Linked DNA regions of Homo sapiens: region 1 is linked to region 2. The links are contacts of gene promoters, found by promoter capture Hi-C in human tissues and cell types (Jung and others, 2019). All regions are on one chromosome and are shown on one strand. Each heading gives the region's core, a stretch centred on a gene start or on the middle of the fragment in contact. The rest is flanking DNA. Distances are from core to core; before and after follow the strand shown.

The links. The method cuts DNA at HindIII sites, captures the fragments that hold promoters and counts their contacts. A contact is called where the count stands out against the background at its distance.
Region 1: a contact is called between a fragment that was not itself captured here and the fragment with the promoter of DOK5 in region 2, in 1 of the 25 tissues and cell types used here (aorta).

What each region holds. Positions count from the first base shown.
Region 1 is chr20:54,344,025-54,349,816 of GRCh38, reverse strand. No RefSeq gene overlaps it. Among named protein-coding and RNA genes, the nearest start is that of DOK5, 130 kb to the left of the region's middle. The HindIII fragment of the contact is 7,053 bases long and covers 865-5,792 here.
Region 2 is chr20:54,472,095-54,477,563 of GRCh38, reverse strand. It overlaps DOK5 (docking protein 5), which reads right to left and starts at 1,971. Exons shown (of 8, transcript NM_018431.5): 1 at 1,552-1,971. The coding sequence starts at 1,617. The HindIII fragment of the contact is 11,986 bases long and covers 1-5,469 here.

The DNA.
Region 1 (5,792 bases), core at 3,142-5,641, 130 kb after region 2:
CTATCCCATTGCTATTTTTCTTGATGTTTTCATACAACTATACAACTTAGAAATATTTTTATAGCTCTATCTCATTATTTTATGGAATGGGGGTATGGGAATTGGTCATGTAATTATGGAGGCCAGGAAGTCCCAGCAACCTGCTGTCCGAAAGCTGGAGAGTCAGGGAAGCCAGTGCTGTCATTCAATCTCAGACGAAAGGCCCAAGAACCAGGGGAACTAATGGTGTAAGACCCAGGCCCAAGAATCAGGAGCGCTGGTGTCTTAGGGCAGGAGATGGATGTCTCAGCTCAAACAGACAGCGTAAATTTGTTATTTTGTTCTAAGCAGGCCCTCAACAGATTAGATGATGCCAGCCCAAATTGGAGAAGGCGGTCCTCATTACTCAGTCTATGGATTCAAATCTTAATCTTTTCCAGAAACACCCTCAAGAACATGCCAGAAATAATGTTTTACCAGCTATCTAGGCATCCCTTAGCCCAGTCAGGTTGACAAATAAAATTAACCATCACAAATGGAAATGCCATCATTTAAAAAAAAAAAAAACCATTATCCTCTTGATAGACATTTAGGTAGTTCATAAACATAAACTTGTTGTCTCTAACCTGCAGATATATCCAGATCTGAGCACGACTCTCCTCCTCCAACTGCACTATCCCTGCCCAACCTGCCATATGTTCCTGCTGGATGTCCCTAATGGCCTCCTCACTGGTCAGCCAGTTCAGGATTTTGTTTCCCTACTGTCCATTCCCCACTCAGCCACCAGAATGACCTGACTAAAACATAAGTCAGGTCACATCACTGCTCCGCTCAGAACCTTCCTATTCTTTCCCATCTTATTCCAAATAAAAGTCAAGGTCATCTCAATGGCCAACAACCCCTGTACTCTCTGGTCCCTCCCAGATACTTGGCACTTCTCTGACCTCACCTGATTCCTTGATTTTCCCTAGTTTACTGTGTTCCAGCCACACAGGCCTTCCTGCTTTTTCTTCAACTTGCCAGGAACTATCCTACCTCAGGGTCTTTGACCTTACTGTTAACTCTTCCTAGATCACACGCTTCTCAGATATCCACAACTCCCTCTCTTACCTCCTTCTGGTCTTTACTCAAAGGTCAATTTCCAAGAAGGCCTTTCCTGACAACTATATTTAAATTTGCTATATACTCTCTGAAAATATTCATTGCCTTCTAACAATTTAATATTACCTATTTTAACTTTCTTTCTTTTGAGACAAGGTCTCACTCTGTCACCCAGGATGGAGGGCAATGGCATGAACACTGCTCAGGGCAGCCTTGACCTTCTGGATTCAAGCAATCCTCCCACTGAAGCCTCCTGAGTTGCTGGGACCACAGGCATGCACCGTCATGCCCAGCTAATTTTTAAATTTTTTTGTAGAGATAGGGTCCCACTATGTTGTCTGGGCTGGTCTTGAACTCCTGGGCTCAAGCAATCCTCCCGCCTCAGCCTCCCAAAGTGTTGGGATTACAGGCATGAGTCACCACACCTGGCCTATTTTAATTCTTTATCCTGTTTATTGTCTATCTTTCTCAACAAGAATATAAGCCTCATGAGAGAAAGAAAAACAAATTTAAATGTTCACTTATAGCTAATTCCTCAAGGCCTTGAATATATAAGCACTCAAAAAATATGTGTAGATGAATAAATGAGTTACAAATAATGGTGAAATGTACATCCTTAACATTTATCCTACAATATTTGGGCAAAATGTGTAGAATAGATTATAAAAGGAATTATTAGTTCAAAAGGTAGATAGTTAAATGTTTATAGAATATTAAGGACCAATATCAGAGATATCAGAAATATTTTAAAAATTAAATATGAAAAACATTCTTGATAGTAGAACATTTAAAGAACAGTTGTTGGCCGGGCGTGGTGGCTCACGCCTATAATCCCAGCACTTTGGGAGGCCAAGGCGGGCGGATCACGAGGTCAAGAGATCGAGACCATCCTGGCCAACATGGTAAAACCCTGTTTCTACTAAAAATACAAAAAACTTGCTGGGCGTGGTGGCACGCACCTGGAGTCCCAGCTACTTGGAAGGCTGAGGCAGGAGAATTGCTTGAACCTAGGAGGCGGAGGTTGCAGTGAGCCGAGATCACGCCACTGCACTCCAGTCTGGCGATAGAAGAACAGTTGTTGGTAAGGGGCCCAAGCTGTACTCAGCCTCAGGCAACTGCATCAGAGAATGCAGTAGAATTCTTGCCATGGCTAAGACATTGACACATTTAACAGCCAGACTCATTCTGGTGTTTATTTCCCTCAATTTACTCATCAGCAGAGGAGTGAGCCAAAAAATAAACCAGAATAAAATCAAATGATTCTAAAATGTGTAAGCAATAACGGAAACAAAGGTCTCCATATCCTGAATCCAATGCTGTCACAGCTCAGTGGAGCTGTAATTTTTGACTATTAATCATTCACAGAAATTCCAATAGAAAGTCTTCATGGGTGTGGTAAGTGCCATGTTTATCAGCTCCTGTTTACATCTCAACCCTGTCAAGCTGCGAAAAAACACTCAACCCATCGAAGCATCCATTTCAAGCCAGACTCAGTGTCAAATCCAAGACTATGCAATTAAATATAATTAGGAGGAGCTCAACTCCAAGCCATTCCTACAATTCTGATGTCAATTGATTCAAATGCCATTGTATTTGTCATTGTAATTACATGATGAAACTTGCTTCATATCTGTGACCAAAGCACGCACATGCACACACACACACCATATATACATTCTACATGCTTTTCCTAACTTTGCTAGGCAGCCTATACATTTTTTTCTCTCTCAAGGCACCTTTCAGTGAATACTCAGAGGAAACTACAATAATTACATACAGGCAACGCGATTAGGGTAGAAGGGTTTCTAATGATTACCTGTCTTCTGCAAGAGTTAGCTCTTGGTGAAAAGATGAACACGTTTTGCTATTTTTCTGTGGGCAATTTTTCAAAGTTATATGTGCAATTTATGCTATTTGAGTATTTTAATGCACCCACTGGAAACTTGAGCACCCAAAGTTGACTCCATGACCAGAAACAAAATAAATGTGAAGCCAGCAAGAATGGAAGTGCAATAAACAGGGCAAAATCAGCTGAAAATGTGGATTACTGAAGATATAATATTAGGAGATTTTTCTTCATTCAGTAGTGAAGGGGTTAGAATATGTCACCCCAAAATATGCCACATTGGCGTAAGGACTATTTCAAGCAGAAAGCAATTGAGAAACAACAGATGCAAGAAACAAGCACTCTACCCTCCCCCATTGGCCTAAAATCAGGGCATAGATTTCCCTTTGTGAAAATGTTGCCACTTCCTCTTTCTCCTACCAGAAAGGGCACAGCAAGTGTTTAATCACCAGAGGAAACTCTAGACTATCAGCCTCCAGGGGAGTCTGCATAACAAACCTTCCTAAAATAACCCAGTCTTCCATTATTTTCCTCATATGTTTACCTTTCCACAATTTATCACCACTAGAAACTCAAATTTATTTTCTTTGTCTTGTCATTTCTCCACAATTTTTTTGGCCCTTTTGTTAAACTGGTATATACACCTCCAGGTCTGCCTACTTCTTTGGGTTTTAATTTCTATGAGGCCCTTCATATGCATATGAAATAAATCCTTTTTCCTGTTAACGTGTCTTTTAATGTTTAATTTCTAGGGTCCCAGCCACAGAACCTATGAGGGTTTTTCCTTTGCCTCTGCAACAGATAGTTGTTGTTCTGATACATGCCAGAAACTCTTCTAGGCACAAGGCTTGCCAAGTGAGTTCTGTGTTCAACCTGATTTGGCTACTCACCACTTGAGGGAACTTAGGCAACTTACTGAAGGACTTTTTGACACAGTTTGTTCATCTCTAAATGGTCTCATCTTTAACTATGAATACTTTCCTTGTACGGTTTTTGTGAGAATTCTTCTCATTATTAACTTACATTTATTAGAAGCATATGCATTGGTCACTGTGCTGAGTGCTTTGGAAGCTTTTTTTTTTAATTTTCACAACAATCCCGTGAAACTGACACTGTAACTATTCCTCTTTCACAGATTAAGACTTAAGATGCAGAAAAGCAAAATAAACCTCCAAGACTCATGCAGCTAGTAGGTGACAGGGCTAGGCGTGCACTCCATACCCTAAGTTCCTCCTCCTCTTGTTCTACTGCCATTATTTTGCACAGTGTCCATGCTTAATAATTAATAGCCCTCATTATTAGTATTAGTATTCTCTAGACTTTAAATTGCTTCTGCCTACCTCACAGGGTTGTTGATTTAACAGAAAACCTCGCGTAAGTGCAATGGATCTTTCCTATTTTTAGTGGCGTCTGGGTTAATTAGACTCTTAGTCACTAGTCAGTGTATTTGAGTTTTTGGAAATGACTCATCAAAAACATTTCTAAGCAGGATATTTGCTTGCAGCATTTTCATCAGACTGCAATTCTCTGCCCTGATCCTTCAGCCTGGCAAATGCATTCCAAGAAAAGTATCATATTCCAGGCTCCCTGAAATGAACCCAGTTCTCAACCAAAAAGAGCCACTTGCCTTAATCCCCTTTTAAACACTGAAAATAATTCATAAATAATGTATCTTCATATGTATTGGCTCTGATAGAATCTGAAATAAGTTACATATTTTTAAAATTAAAAAATCCCGAGCAAGGTTTTTCTCAATTCTGACACAATTGATCATTCCCTGTTGCAGGAGGCTGTCCTGTGCATTGCAGGTTGTTTAGCAGCATCTCTGGCCTCTACCCACTGGAAGCCACAGGCACAGCCCCCACCCCAGTGGTGACAACCAAAAATGTCTTCAGACATTAATGAATGTCCCCCCAGGGGGCAAACTTGCTTGCAGTTGAGAACCATTGATCAAGGGCAACATTTTGAAATAATTATTTTTAAGGCTTTCTATGAGATTTGGTATCAACTCTGCCCTGATGTTTCTATGTATTCTTGGTGGGGGACAATGACAACGTAATTGTAGTGCCACACTTTTATTTTGGACCCAGTATCTGCATATATAAATGTTTATATAGAATTTGTACTATTAACATCCTATCATGTACTACTCTACTTGAGAGTTATCCATTGAACCAATTGATGCACAGTCTTTAATCATAATATTTACTGAAAGTTTATTATATGCCAAGTACTATGCAAAGGTGTTTTATGTACCTTGTCTTAATCAATTTTTTTTGTGGTTTGTTAAATATTTTATTCTATTACATATAAAGCTGTGATTCACATGGAAATTATTTTGATAAAGAAATTATCAGGATTGAACTGAATTTTTTTTATTATACTTTAAGTTTTAGGGTACATGTGCACAATGTGCAGGTTTGTTACATATGTATACATGTGCCATGTTGGTGTGCTGCACCCAGTAACTCGTCATTTAGCATTAGGTATATCTCCAAATGCTATCACTCCCCCCTCCCCCGACCCCACAACAGGCCCCGGTGTGTGATGTTCCCCTTCCTGTGTCCATGTGTTCTCATTGTTTAATTCCCACCTATGAGTGAGAACATGTGGTGTTTGGTTTTTTGTCCTTGCGATAGTTTGCTGAGAATGACGGTTTCCAGCTTCATCCATGTCCCTACAAAGGACATGAACTAACCTGTTGTGGAGTGAAGATCATTGTCTCCCCATCTCTACAACGGAGCCAAAGTAGAGATAAGGAGAGGGAGGCTTAAATAGACTCAGTTAATTGCACAAAGCCTCACCAGTGGTAAAGGGCAAAGGCAGAGCTTAACCCTCAAGGCTTTCTAACCTCAAGGTTAGAGTA
Region 2 (5,469 bases), core at 722-3,221:
ACATGGGAGTCACTCAGTAAAGTACCCCCAACAATGGGTGCTCTTGAAGATGAGAATATTTGCATAGCAGAAAAGAAAACCAAGGAAACTTTGGCAGAGCTGATGGAAATGGTGAATTCTGTTACATTTCTCCCTAATTACATATGTATATATTCACAATAACACAGGACATAATCGCTAAAACATGGTCACCAGCAGGGGAGAAAAAGAAAAGAAAAAGACCAAAACGAATTAGGCAAGAGTTTTATAATAATTGCGGATGTTCCTCCCCACAGGGCTTCCCTCCCTAGCTGAGTTTACTACTGTGAAATTTCTTTTCAGTTTTCAGTAAAAGTATCTGGCACATTAAAACAGTCCAAAGACCAAGTAAGAGAAAGATGCCAAATGACACATATTTCTAAAGAAAGCTATTCAATTTACCACTCATTATCAATGGCGGCATTCCACACGATTACTGACATTATACTTATTTCAGGCATTACACCAAAGGATATTTTCTCCCCCCGCCCCCGCCACCTCTCCACCCCCACTTTTCACCCCTTATGTCCAAACGCACAGGATCAACTAAAACAGCGACAACACTTGATAGGAGGCAAAGAGAAATGAGGGACCTAGTTTGAAATTTTTAGGAAATAAAAAAATCGTTCCAGTATCTTCCCTCTCCCTCAAGAATTCTTCCACCATCATTCAGTCCCAAGGAGAGGAAGGGTAGGTTCTCTTTTGAAGCCTCCTCCAGCGAAGAGCCAAGAGAGAAAGGGGCGAAAGAGAGGGAGTTTTAAGGAAGGAGCTAGCCTGTGTCAACATCTGTCCCAAGTGCCCTAAGATTCATTCATTCTTCCTTTCAGGACATATGTAGGGAGCACTTGCGCTATGCCAGGTATCAGGTTCCACGTAAATAACCCTTCCGTGGACCTCCAGGGTGTATTCCAGCAACAGAAATCCACCACCCCGGCTTCGAACCACGGAAAATCCAGATTCAAGTATCTACCCAAGTTGGCCCCGACCAGAGGCCAGCCCGCACCGCCTTTGACACGACACCTGGGACAGAGGTGGGGGGATCCAAAGACACCTTACGCTTGGCAGAAATCTCTCCCTGGGGTCAGAGGGTTCGTGACCTCGTTCACACCGAGTATGCGTGTCCTCTTTCTCAACCAGCCGATCCATCCCCCGGAAAAGTTAAGTTGGCGGCGAGTGGGAAAAGAGGGGAACCGGGGGCATCCGGCAGGCACCCCCGCCCGGGCTTCTCAGCTCCAACTTCCATGGCTACCGAGAAATATTTATTTCGAGTAGATGGGCTCCAGGGGCTACTGAAGCCCAACACGCGGCCACCATCAGAAAGCCAAGTCATCCAAGAGATAAAGATAGATCCATTACATACCTAGACGCTGGCCTTACAGTGACAGCCCCGGAGACGCGGGTTTCGGCTGAGAAAGCCACCGCGCAATTCTCCGGCGCGCGGCCGGGGACTCTCCGTCCACCCTCCAGGGATGCTGGCTCAAGAGAGAGACAATCGAACCGGCGAACAGCAACACGGAGAGGATCGATACTCACCCCGAGGCGTCTGCTCCGGATCCTCACGTACCCTTGCTTCACTATGTCATTAAAATTGGAAGCCATCCCAGACAGCCGGTGACCCCCCCTTTACCCAAGAGCGCGCACCCGAAGTGGCTCTGGGGAGGGTGGAGGGCAGGGTCAAGACAAGCAGTCGGTGGGAGAAAGTTGGAGAGGTGAAGCTGCTTCGGCGGCGCTGGGCGAGGCTTTAGAAGGCGCACATCACTTTCTCTGTCCCCCCAACCCTGACAGTGGGCGGCCGGCTTGCAGCCACTTTCGGGGAGCGCAGAGCGCGGCGCGGGGAGGCGAGGCTGGAGCGCCGGCGTCAGCTGACTCCGCGGCCGGCCTGCCAGGAGGAGGAGCGGCGGCGGCTGAGGGATCCAGCCCTGCCTCCTCCCGGCCGAGAAGGAGGAGAAGAAGGAGGAGGAGGAGGAGGAAGGAGGAGGAGGAAAGAGGAGGAAGGGGTGGGGGGCTAAGAGGAGGAGCCGCGCGAGTCCCAGCACTGGGCTGCGGCCACCCGTGAGCAGCCGCCCTGGAACGCTCCCCGCGCCTCCCACCCACCTTTCCCTCCCCGCTTCCCCTTCCGATCCCTCCCCTCCTGGCGGACCCGGAGCGTGCCCCCGCCACCCCCGCACCTCGCCCACAGCCTACTGAGATAGCGCTCGCTCTCCTCGCTCCAATGACTTATTTTAGGAGGAGAGGAAATTTCACTTTTTTCCAGCCGCCGCCCACCCCGCCTCCCCCTTCAGCCCCTGCCCTTTCCCCGAGAAGGGCCGATTTTGCGTGTGTGTCTGGGGAGATGGTGTTGCCGCGGCTCGCCTTGACCTTGGCATCTGAGGAGAGGGATATTGTCACCGCTTAAGCCAAATGCTTCCTTGGGTTTCCTTGTGTCAGGGACCTAGCCCTCGCTGGTATCATTTGCCACAGTTTCCCTGTTTCAGCCTCTTTCCCGCCGGAATGTGTTTCCCAGGGGGCTGAGACTTGGCCTCATCACTGTCTGTCCCCAAAGCCTGACCCCAGAGCAAGTGCTCAGTAAATCCTTGTGGTTATCAAGATGGCCACCTAGGTGCCAGGCACTCTCCAAGCCTTTTGCATGGATTGACTCATTCAAACTCCCCTGCACTTTTTGAGGTAGGTGCCCTGTTAATGTATACACCAGGCCCATATTTAATTAAGCCTCCTTAGCCTGGCAATAGAGCTCTCATTGCCATTATGAGATACTGCCTATACAATAAGATGAAGAAGGGGACTGAATTTCACACTCACCTGCCCCTGACTGCATTACCTCCCTAAAGCATACTTGATTGATAATTGCTAACACACATTGAGCACCAGTGTGCTGGGCATTGTGCTAATCTTGTTAAGGGAATAATGAATTAGGCACCAGCATCCACATTTTACAGACTTGCTAAGGTCTCACAGCTGGCCACTATCAGAGCTAGGATTGAAGGGAGGTGTGTGTAGTGCCCAGCTCTGCTCCTAAACATTCTCCTATTCCTCTTCTGAAGAGAGGATCTCACAGAAAGAGAGGTTACTAGTTGATTTCCAAGGAAGATCTTTCTAATCATTTGCACTATTCACAAAGGCAAAGATAATCATCAGAAATTAGACAAAAATTCTTACTCACTGGGAAGCGACAAAGCTAAAGCTAGAGATCACTGCTCAGAGCCATTGAGAAGAGGATTCAGTTAGTAGTGGATTGTTTGACCTGATGACATCCACAGGTCTTTCAACTCTAAGACGATATGAATCTTCCCATTCTCACTGGGAACATTAGCTTTTAGTCACCTTGGCTTGATGAGTTTCAGTTAAAGAACAGAAACCTCCAAGAATGTGTCATAGGAGAACCGAGACTAAATGGGGACAATCAAAAAGGAGATATTCTGGCAGGGAGAACTATTTTTGCTACATAGTAAACCATCTGTCTTCATGTTGCCATTCTATGGAAAATGATGTTTTAATTTTAAATCTCTCACCAAAAGAGATGAAATGGTAAAATCATTTGGAGAGCTCCTTTTGAAGGATTGGAACTTAAAAAAAAAAATGCTGCCCATGGTTGCTGTAAAATAGAGGTGTTCATGGAAGGCATTTATCTAACACATCATTTATAGACCAAGTCCACAGTATTATAGAAACAAAAAATGAAGAAATTAAGGCATAAGGAGCTTGAAATGAAGGGCCCACAATAACGGAAATAATTACTGACAAAAACTGAAGGCGAGAAATCCATCCCTTGATAGTTAATGCTGACTATAATCAACATCCATAGATAATTTAACTGGAGCTGAGGAAACTAGAATCAAACCAGAAAATATCAAACTAGACGTGAAGGAACAAATGATTTCTTTTTTAAATTGCAAGACTGAATCCAATATATGGTTTTGTTTGGTGAAATCCAATTGACATACATGCAAAACGTACAGACTGTGATATACTATTCATAGGACATTTACACTTGTCCAAATTGTGCAATACAAGCCCTGGCAGCAAGAGCAAAGAGACTGGGCACAGTGGCTTACGCCTGTAATCCCTGTAATTTTTTGGGAGGCCGAGGTGGGTGGATCACCTGAGGTTGGGAGTTCGAGACCAGCCTGACCAACATGGAGAAACCCCGTTTCTACCAAAAATACAAAATTAGCTATGTGTGGTGGTGCGTGCCTGTAATCCCAGCTACCTGGAAGGCTGAAGCAGGAGAATCACTTGAACCTGGGAGGTGGAGGTGAGCCAAGATTGCACCATTGCACTTCAGCCTGGGCAACAAGATCGAAACTCTGTCTCAAAAAAAAAAAAAAAAAAAAAAAACATTAAAAAAAGAAAAAGAAATGGAAAAGAACCATTCACAGAGGTAGGCAATGTAAGGGGTGCTTATAGAGTTCTACAGTGCACAACTTGCCTAACCATATGCTGCCGAACAAATATACTATCACACATGATTTAGTTTTACTGGAAATGTCTGACAAGAAAAAATACTATTTCGTTCCGTGTTTTGAACTCAATTTTTGAATATTTAGAGCTTCTTATTTGTAGTATGCATTTCTGTTTGTTTCCTCAGCATCCAGAGTTTGTTCTTCCCATAGTAGTCACCATTTTCACTGAGTGTACTCACCCCTGTTTCCAGCTCACGTGTGCAGCCCTGTCCATGGCCTTTCTTTGGACAACTAGTGGTTGGTGATTGGTTCAGATATGGGCACATGACCTAAGCTGGCCAATTAATAATGAATTGGGTTACTTTTACTGAATACTGGGAGGAAGACTCACACTCCAGCTGAAATGGAATCTGGATGGAAGAGGCCCAGGAGCTGCTGGCACAAATGGTGAAACCCCAGGGGAGGGCTTATCGAAGAGTGAAGGCCACGCTAAAGGAGCAGAACCAAGACATAAAGAGAAGCAAACCAGATCCCGACGATCTGATTTGAACCCCTCTTCCAGCACCCCAGGAAGTTATTTAAGTAGATTTGAAGATTTTGTAACAATTAGACCCCAAAATATAATGATTTAAGATGCATAAAAGTTTATTTATTTTTCATGTAACAGTTTATCCTGGGCAAGTAGGACACTTAGTCCTATAAGGATGCCCAGGGATCCAAGCTTGTGGTTCAACTCTGGCACCTCAGGACACGGTTTTTCATCCTTGAGTCTAGTCATTGTCTGATACAGTTTTTCTGTGTCCCTACCCAAATCTCACCTTGAATTATAATAATCCCCACGTGTCAAGGGTGGGGCAAGGTGGAGATAATTGAATCGTGGCAGTGGTTTCCCCCATTCTATTCTTGTGGTAGCAAGTAAGTTTCATGAGATCTGATGGTTTTGTAAAGGCAGGAGTTCCCCTACACAAGCTCTCTTGCCTGCTGCCATGTAAGACATAACTTAGTTTCTCCTTTGTCTTCTGCCATGACTGTGAGGCCTCCCCAGACATGT